Linked DNA regions of Homo sapiens: regions 1 and 2 are each linked to region 3. Evidence: promoter capture Hi-C in human tissues and cell types (Jung and others, 2019). All regions are on one chromosome and are shown on one strand. The core of a region is centred on a gene start or on the middle of the fragment in contact, and the rest is flanking DNA. Distances in the headings are between cores, read along the strand shown.

Region 1 (2,945 bases), core at 336-2,835, 86 kb before region 3:
GACTCTGATGTGGATGCTCTGTATAGGCTCTGCCTGGAGATGCCAAGGGGTCCCAGGACACAACAGAAGGCATAGAAGAGCCTCAGAGGGCAGATTTTCTACAGGATCCCAATTGTCTGGAAAGATGCTTCTATCCAAAGCTCTGGACCCAAGTCCAGGCTGAAGCTATTAGAGCACCTTTTCTTCCCTCAATGCGATCCCCCACCTCGCAGAAAAATGTCTCAGCCTATGTGTGTGCACACACAGATGTGGCATTTGCATTTACCCAACAAAGCCTAACCCAGCTTCTCTCTCATCTTTGCCAAATGGATCCAGAACAGGGGCTCCATGGTCTGGCCTGACCACATCAGGCCTTCTGACTGCTACAGATGGTTTGTAAATAAGGCCTTCCTACATGAATGCGACACGGCAGCATTCATTCCATCTCTCTGATCCTGCCATCTCACCTGAAGGAGGAGGCAGATGGGGCCGCCCATGCTCACGGGTGCAGCAGGTAGGCTCGCTGATAAGCCACAGAAGCCAGTGAGCATCCCAGCTGGGCCAGAACCTGGATCTGCAATAGGCTCTGTTGGACCCCAGGGTCCTGCCTTTCCAGGTGGGGAACCCCACCAAGATGCTGGTCAGGTAAAGGGTGGTGCTCTGGGTCCTGTCTCCAACCCACTCTGGTGCACCCCCCACTCCCAAAGAGCCAGGCACCCTCTCTGACAGGCCTGAGGTCCCCCTACCCTTGTGCCAGTAGTGCTGCTGGCTCCCAAGCAGCAGAATTCATGAGCTGGGCAGTGCAGACCTTGGTTCAAACCCAGCCCTACCACTGCCCAGGTGGGTGACCTTAGCACGTTACTTAATGTCTCTGGGACCCAGGCTTCTTGTCAATAAAAAGTGGATTCGGCTGGTCAGCCAGGACACCCCGAGTCCCTGTGAGGTGCTAGGCACCGTGCTTTACAGCACCCAGAACAGTGCCTGCCTAGAGCACTTGGGGTCCTGGGTCCTATCATCCCTACTGGGCCAGGAGCTCTAAAACCAGCAGGCCCTGTCCTTGGCCAAACACTGGGTCTCCAGGCTTCCAACAACCATGGAAGCAAGAAAGCAACAGAAAATTAGAGGATCACACTAAGGTATTAGTTACTACATGGAGAGCAAGCCCCTGGGCTGGGAGGCTGGAGAGACAAGACAGGGCAGGGCCTGAGGGATGAGCTGCCTTGGGACAGGCTGAGGGTACCCAAAGTTAACAGGCAGGCAAGACAGGGCCAGGGGAACCAAGGAGTGGAGCAGGGCCAAGAAAGAGAACAGGAAGACCCCAAAGCCTGAGACGTGCCACCCCCCAACACCTGCAGCTCCAAACAAAATTCTCCCACTAAAAACGGGGCATAAAGGTTGGGCGTAGGCACGGGTGGGGACATAACTCACAGGCCCATTTGCTCCATGAGCCTGGCCAGATGGTGCCCAAGTATCCAGGGAAGGATGAACTTCACATTCCTGTAGGATTCCATGCCTCCTCCACACAAGCTGGGTCAGGGAGGGGCAGCCTAAGTGGCAGGCAGAGCACAGCCAGCTCAGGCATGGCCCAAGTCCATGGGCCTTTTAACACCATGGCTCCAGCCAGCACAGGCTGTTGGTATTTTATTTATTTTATTTTATTTTATTTTATTTTATTTTATTTTATTTTATGAGACGGGGTCTTGCTCTGTTGGCTAGGCTGGAGTGCAGTGGCATGAACATGGCTCACCATTGCCTCAAACTCCTGGGGCTCAAGCAATCTTCCTGACTCAGCCTCCTGAATAGCTGGGACTACAGGCGTGCACTACCACATCCAGCTAATTTTATTTTTTTATAGAGACGGAGTCTCACTAGGTTGCCCAGGCTGGTCTCAAACTCCTGGCCTCAAGTGATCTTCCCGCCTTGGCCTCTCAAAACACTGGGATTACGAGCAAGCCACCATGCCCTGGTCTAATTTTAGAAAGGCACCCAGGTGTCCCTATGCAGCAGCAGAGGAAGGGAATTGTCTCAAAAACAAAATCCCTTCTTTCCCATTAGGAAAAAAGGGCAGCTTCCATTTCCCGAGCATCTACCACATGCCAAACTGTTTACTGCTAATCCCAACACAGCACTATAAGGTTTCTACAATAACTCTCATTTGATGGAGGGGGAAATAAGACACAGAAAGAAACCATAACTGGCCTGGTGCATGGTGAGGGTGAGTCGGGCCCCGTTAGATGGTTCGGGATACTGTGCCCTCTACTCCACCTGTGGCCCCGGGGCCACATTCCCTGAAGGAACGCTATGTGTCCAAAACAACTGCGTGGGATGGGTTCTCTAGGAAATGACAGCTGGATGTGCGGCTGGGGAGCAGGCTGGTGGCAAGTGAGGCCTGGCATGCAGGACAGGCAATGTTTGGGATCTTCTGGACATTTCCAAAGATCTTTATGCACCAGTGGCCTGAAGGCTTTCTCTCCCTGGAAATGCAGGCAGGCCCTTCAGTGAACATGCAGATGGCCATGCCTACCCTGCAAAGACCATTAAGACAGAGACAATGGAATTTGATAGAAGGGTCTGAAGCAAAGCAGACAATGAGCAAACCCTGGGACACTGCTGAATAAACCAGCAGGAGGCAGAGAGAGGTGCTTTGCCTGGAAAAAACAAACACCAGGAAGGCCCAGCAGGCAGGCCTGCATCCGCAGTGTGTGTATCAGCTTAGCCCTGTTGGGGCGGGGGTCTTGGGAGGGGCCGCAGGAAAGTTACTGGGTGGGCTGAGGTGATCAGTATGGGCCACCACCCTCAGAATGCTGTCTAAGGGCAGTAGTGGTCTATCCCAGGGAACATCACCACACACAGAGAGAAGGACGTCTAAATGTAGAAGTTGGAACTTCCAATTCCAGGCAAGATGGAAAAAGCACACTACAGCCTTTCCCACTATCCACAGGTACAAATTCTGCATGAAACCTCTA
Region 2 (2,830 bases), core at 83-2,582, 75 kb after region 3:
GGTCTATTCTCTCCTCTCTGCCCACAATGCCCAGCTTAGCTGTGCCCATGTCCTTCAAGCTCCAGTTCAAATGTCATGTTGCCCACGAGCTCACCTGACCCCCCAGCCCAGGACACCACTCTGAGGTCCCTCCCGAGGCCCCTGCACCTGCACTCAAGCGGGGTTGGTCGAGTAGAGACGTTTTCCCCTATGCGGTGGTCAATCAGTCCTGGGAGGGCAGGCCCAGTCCACTCCCACCCGGTGCACCCCAGCGTCAAGCTCTGGGGGAGTGACCACTCAATAAATATTTGCTTAATTGAATTTGGCCAAGGAGCCTTCTCCAGAGAGCTCAATCCCCAGGGCAGGGAAATCACTTGGGCAGAAAGGAGCCGGTCAGGGGCTCAGCTGTCTCCCCAAGCAAGACAGACCTCTCTACCAGGCGGGTCCCTCCACCCCAACACGGACTACGCGGAACGCTGGTCTCGCTTGGCATCATCCTCTTGTCTCAGTTAACAGGAGCCCCCATTCTCGGCCTAGGCCGAATCCTGCCATCATCACCCAGGAAGGCTCAGCACCGCCCTAAAGGCAGAGCCCCCTCGGATCGCCCGCAGGATACGGAGCGCCAGCCCTGAGGCCCTCACTCCCCTCCCCCAAACACCCCCACCGCCTTTTAAGGGAAAAAATATTGAGCCGGGAACGTATTACAATCGCAGCAGGTCGATACTCATCTCTTCCTCTAAATGCCTGTGAGGAACCTGCTCGCTGCAAGAGCAGTGACCGAGAACTGCTAGCTGTCCGTCTGCGGGCCCAGGTCCTCGGGCCCAGGCCTCTGGGGCCCTCTCCTCGGTTTCAGGCAAGGCCCTGCATCGGCTCCGGCCGCCCCTCCCTGATCCTCCCCCTAGGGAGACCCGCCTCAGCGCCGCTCCCGCAGCTCGCCTGGCCCGCCCGGGCTCCGCATCAGCCGCTGCTTGGGGGCGCCCGGCGGCCCCGCGCGGCATCCCCGGCGCCCTCTGTCCACCCTCCCGGGTCCTCAACCGCCCCCTCCCGCGGGGTCATCGGCTTGGCGGCGCATCCCTCCCCCAGCACCTGCCCGACCAGAGGCCGCCCCCTGCCCACCTCGCAGGCGTCCCCGCCCTTGGTGTCCCCCACCCCTGAGGGGCATCCCTGACGCTGCGTCCTGGCGGATCCGGGGCACAAAGGCCTGGGAAGAGTCCCAAGTGGGGGCAAGGTGGATGCCCCGGCCGTGCCCCCGACCCCTGAGGCTCAGCGGCGCGCGGCCGGCCGCGGGTCGGCTCACTCACCTCCGGGCCGCAGCACAGAGCATCTGCCGAGCTGCTCCGGGCAGGGCGGGGCGGGGCGGGGCGGCGAGCACGGGGCCGCGGCGCCCTCGTTCCGTACGACGCGGGCAGCGGCGCCCACGCGGGGACGTGACCGGACCGCGGGCGGCGCACACGCTCCGGCCGGCCTGGTTCCCTCCGCCCGCCCTCCCGCGCCGCCCGCCGCCCGCCGCCCGCCGCCAGTCCGCGGGTCCGCCCGCCCCGCGCCGCGCCGCCGCCGGCAGGGGGCGGAGCCGCGAGCGCAGCCCGTTGCCAGGCCAACCGCGGGCGGGGGGGTGCCGCGCGCCCGCCGGGCACCACGCGCCGGGCACCTCCGCCCCGCCACGAGCGCCGGCCCTCTGTCCATTGGGCACAGGCAGCTGACGGACGGGCCAGTAGCCCAATGGGGACGGACAGGGGCGGGGTCGCAGCTCCGCGCGCGCCGCAGTCCCGCAAGAGCTCCCCGCGCCGGCGTTCCACCGACTCCGCTGCGCTGAGGCCTGGTAGCCGAGCCCCAGGGGCCACCTCTGGCAGCCCGGGAAACCAAGCCTGAGCCCAGCCATGGTCCTGGCCCTCTTTACTGCAGCCAGTCCCGGCTCGCCTTCTCTCCACTCGGGTTCAAACCCAGTTCGGCCTCTTGTGAGCTCTACGTCCTTGGGCAACCGACTGACCTCTCTCAGCCTTTCTGTTTGCAAAGTGGGGCTAGTGGCACCTGCTTTCCTGGATTGTCTCACCAATCCTTCAGAACGTGTGAAAGGCCTATGCAAACCCTAACGATTTACACCGGTGAGGTTTGTGCAGCGATGGGAGGGAGCATTAGTCATCTCTGCCGCCGCCCCCCGCCGCCACCGCCCAGTGTCTAGGGGCTCTTTGGCGTCCCTGGCAATCCTGGCACACGGAAGGGTGGCCTTGGGAGGGAAGGAAGGGAGAAGGACCGAGGAGCTGGCCCCCAGCCCAGACAAGCGTGAGAGAGCCAGTTCAGTTAAGGCCACTGATTGGCGCTTTTGGGAAGCTGGTGGAAAGCATCAGACCCTCAGCAAAACGCAGCTGAACCCAGGCTGCAAAATTCTGTTTTCAATTTCAAAGCCTATCTGTGGACCTCAGGGCCAGGAGTCCCTCAGTTCCATGCTTAAAAGACTCTCAAGCCAGAGGGCCAAGACATGAATGCTCCTGTCTCTCTTCTCCATCTTTGTAAATCTGAAGCTTTGTGTATCCTAGAGCATCCCTGACAAAGTGCAAATGCCTTCCCAGCTAACGCGTTCCTTATCACCTCACACCTTTGTAAGGTGTGGATCATGCCATTCTTTGAGCAGCAGCCCTGGACCTGACCATGGCAGAGGTCCATGGAGCGGTCTCTCCATCATAGCTCTGTGGTGGAGGGGCAGGGGCATGTGCCTGGCTTTGCCAGCTGGACACTGTGGCATCTCAGCATCATCCCATAACCTCCCTAGGAATGTTTCCTCTTCTGTGAGATGGAGACCATTGCGTTACGTACCTGCAGGGTCATGGGCCACCTGTGAGGGTGCTGCCTCAAC
Region 3 (3,126 bases), core at 540-3,039:
CTATGGAGGTTGTACTCAATTTGTATTCCCTGCTGCAATTAATATTGGATTTTAATACAGACACAAGAGAGCTGTGAGTTTTCAAGCTCATAGAGGCGGAATGGCAAGAGGAGAGAGCCCTGGATTTGGGGTCATGGAACTGGAATGCTGTTTTGATAACAACAACGATGATGAGAACAACAGCAACTATGACTGCAGGGGAGCTCCTGCATACCATGAGCCAGGCACCCAATATGAGAGGAATTACCTTCATGTAACAGTGGCTCTGAGAGGTTGAGTAATTTGCCCACAGCCACACAGCTTAATGACAGAATCAGAATGAAGGATTCACATCAAGGACTGTCTGGCTGCAAAATCCCAGCCCTTATAACCTCCAGGCCACACTGCTGCCCAGTGTCACCATTAACTTGCGGTCCCACCTTGGGCAGTCAGTGACCAGTCTCCCAGCTCCTCAAGGTAAATCTGACAATGGACAGACCTCCTTGATTCACCTGCTTTACTTCTAGGCATGAGTGTAGAGTGGGGAGAGCTGATGTGGCTGCAGGGCCAGGAGAGCACTGCAGACGTAATGACTCTCTACCTTAGGGAAGCTGGCGATGACACGGTCGCGGCTCACAGGGGGCCCCAAAGGTGTCAGGGAGGACCTCATTCTTCCACAGTCCTGTGGACCCAACCAGGAGAAAGACAGTTAAGGAGCTGTGCAAATACCTGGGGATTCACCCATGAGTTTCCACCTAACTTTTCATCAGATCCAGGCTGGGTGCAGTGGCTCATGCCTGTAATCCCAGCACTTTGGGAGGCCAAGGTGGGAGGATCACTTGGGCCCAGGAGGTTGAGACCAGCCTGGGCAACAAAGTGAAACCTCAGTCTCTACAAAAAAAAACCAAAAAAATTAGCAGGGCATGGTGGCCTGTGCCTGCAGTCCCAGCTACTTGGGAGGAAGGTGGGAGGAATGCTTGAGCCTGGGAGGTCAAGGGTGCAGTGAACCGTGAAGGTGCCACTGCACTCCAGCCTGGGTGATAGAGTAAGACCTTGTCTCAAGAATTATAAATAAAACCAGATCCAGGCTTCCCTCTCTGTCAGGAATATGGGGCAGAGGCCATTTCTCTCAATCTGCATACAGCAGGCAGCATGGTATGGGGGAACCAGGCCTGCCCCACCCTGCCTGGGAGTCAGAAGACCTGGGTCTCCCCTTGACAGGTGTCTACCAAGGAGGAGCTCCCCTCTGAGCTTACCTTACTGGGCTGTGAGGCATGGCACAGCTCAGGCAGTGGAAGTAGAGTGGGGAGGGGTCTCCTGCTCCCAGTCTGCAAAGGACGAAGGCTCTAGGTGGGCCTGGGGGCCTTAACTTTCAGCCAACTAGGCCTTTTCCCTGAAAACCCTCACTTCACCAGGCCTCTGACTCCTCGAGCCTCCTCAACAGCCCCTCTGTCTCCTTTTTCTGTCCGGACTCCTCTCCAGGCTGGGCTGGGGTGGTCCTGGCGGAGTCCGGTTGTCTTCCCGCATCTGACCTGGCTCTCCTCCACAACCAGCGCGGGCCTGGCCCAGAGTTTGCGCTCCGGAAATGAGGACGCCCCGGGGCCGCAGGCCGCTTTCAAGTTATAGGGGCGGGAAGTGGGCGCGGACGCTGTGCCCTCGCGGCCCTGGCCTCGGGATGTGCCAGCACGGGGTTGGGTGACCGGGAGGGTCGGACAGAGTGGGCGAGCTGACTCACCAGCGATGGCTGTGAAAGCTGGGGCTCCGCGCGGCCTGGTCCGCCTGAGCCAGCGGCGGCGATCACCATGGCAACGAGAGCCACGCGGGACCTGCGGGCTACACGAATCGTCGACGTCGTGGGCGGGGTCTGCGTTGGACTGGCAGCGGCGCGTCCAAGCATCCAGCTTGCACCGGCGATCACCATAGCAACGAGAACCTGCCTGGAGTCTGGGCGGGGCTGGCAGCAGAGAGACTCCTGGACACCCTGGAGAGCCGGAGATCACCATGACAACAAGGGCGGTGCTGGATGGGTGGGCGGTGGGCGGGGCTATGGAGGCCCGGGGGCGGAGCCTGAGCCCTGGGTGGGGCTGACCGTGGAGAGATTCGCGCAGGTTCTGGTGATCAGCTCGGCTGGGAGAGGTTGGGCGGTTATGGCATAAGAGCTCCTGATGTGGTATTGATGTTTAATTGGAGTCAAGCACCCTGCAGCTGCAGAAGATAGACCTGCCTACCATCTACTGACCTTAGTCTGCATAGTTCTGAATCCAGTGCTGTCTGAATATCATATGCCTGGCTTCTAGAGCTCACGGTACAAAATTAATTTCCTTAATAAAAAGCTGACCTGAGTCAGTGATTTCCTCTGAACTAGTTTCGGTTTGGAAAGTTAGCTGTTTTGGGCTAGATGGCCTCTTGTGGCCCTTATAAAACCGTGGAACCAGCTTCGAAGTCCGGGGTTCAGTTTGAGAACCTACTTAATTCAGCTCCTTAACTTTTCTGCATCACAATATGGAAGCCTTGGTACACAGATCTAACTCAGTCATCTTCAATTCAAAGCTAAGTGTGCTGGAGGCTGGTGTTTGATGTCTTTTTTTTTTTTTTTTAAAGAGATGGAGTCTTGCTATGTTGTCCAGGCTGGACTCGAACTCCTAGGCTCAAGGAATCCTCCCGCCTCAGCCTCCCCAGTCCTTGGGACTACAGGCAAGGGCCACCACACCTGGCTCTGTTTAATGTCTTTTAGTGAGTTTCACTGCTAAGGTTGAGGCTTAGGGGGTGAACTTAGGTGAGTTGTTCCACCTTCCGCACCTCAGTTTACTCAACTATAAAATAAACGCAACTATCTATTTCAATGGATCACCTGAGATGGTGAAAGTGCTTTTATACTGTAAAGCTTGATTCAAGTCCATTAACTATTCATTTGTCCTACATGTACTGAAAGCTTCCTGGTATATGCCTAGCACTGGGGAGACAAGGAAAGAGAACGGACATGGTGTCCACCCTCAGGGAAATTGGAGTCCACTGCGGGAAGCAGAGAAGTAAATAGAGAATTAGGGGAAGGGAGTGTGCCAATGGGATTTAGGAGAAGGGAAGATTAAGCTGTGGGGTCACTTACTAATTTGGATTTGGGGATTTGGCAGGAGCTAGAGATCACCC

Evidence for each region. Contacts are between HindIII fragments. The study calls those that stand out against the background at their distance.
Region 1: a contact is called between a fragment that was not itself captured here and the fragment with the promoter of RAB36 in region 3, in 14 of the 25 tissues and cell types used here (IMR-90 fibroblasts, aorta, bladder and 11 more).
Region 2: the fragment with the promoter of GNAZ here is called in contact with the fragment with the promoter of RAB36 in region 3 in 4 of the 25 tissues and cell types used here (adrenal gland, dorsolateral prefrontal cortex, lymphoblastoid cells and 1 more).

What each region holds. Positions count from the first base shown.
Region 1 is chr22:23,230,230-23,233,174 of GRCh38, reverse strand. All of the region lies in intron 1 of BCR (BCR activator of RhoGEF and GTPase), which reads right to left. Among named protein-coding and RNA genes, the nearest start is that of BCR, 51 kb to the right of the region's middle. The HindIII fragment of the contact is 9,635 bases long and covers 1-2,945 here.
Region 2 is chr22:23,069,021-23,071,850 of GRCh38, reverse strand. GNAZ (G protein subunit alpha z) reads right to left here and starts at 1,332. Exons shown (of 3, transcript NM_002073.4): 1 at 1,281-1,332. The region is part of intron 4 of RSPH14 (radial spoke head 14 homolog); the gene reads left to right. RefSeq lists an enhancer at 1-631 and silencers at 1,238-1,377, 1,518-1,657. The HindIII fragment of the contact is 23,611 bases long and covers 1-2,830 here.
Region 3 is chr22:23,144,140-23,147,265 of GRCh38, reverse strand. It overlaps RAB36 (RAB36, member RAS oncogene family), which reads right to left and starts at 1,789. Exons shown (of 11, transcript NM_004914.5): 1 at 1,715-1,789; 2 at 581-661. The coding sequence starts at 649. It also overlaps a transcript of RSPH14 not described here. RefSeq lists a silencer at 1,967-2,036. The HindIII fragment of the contact is 15,551 bases long and covers 1-3,126 here.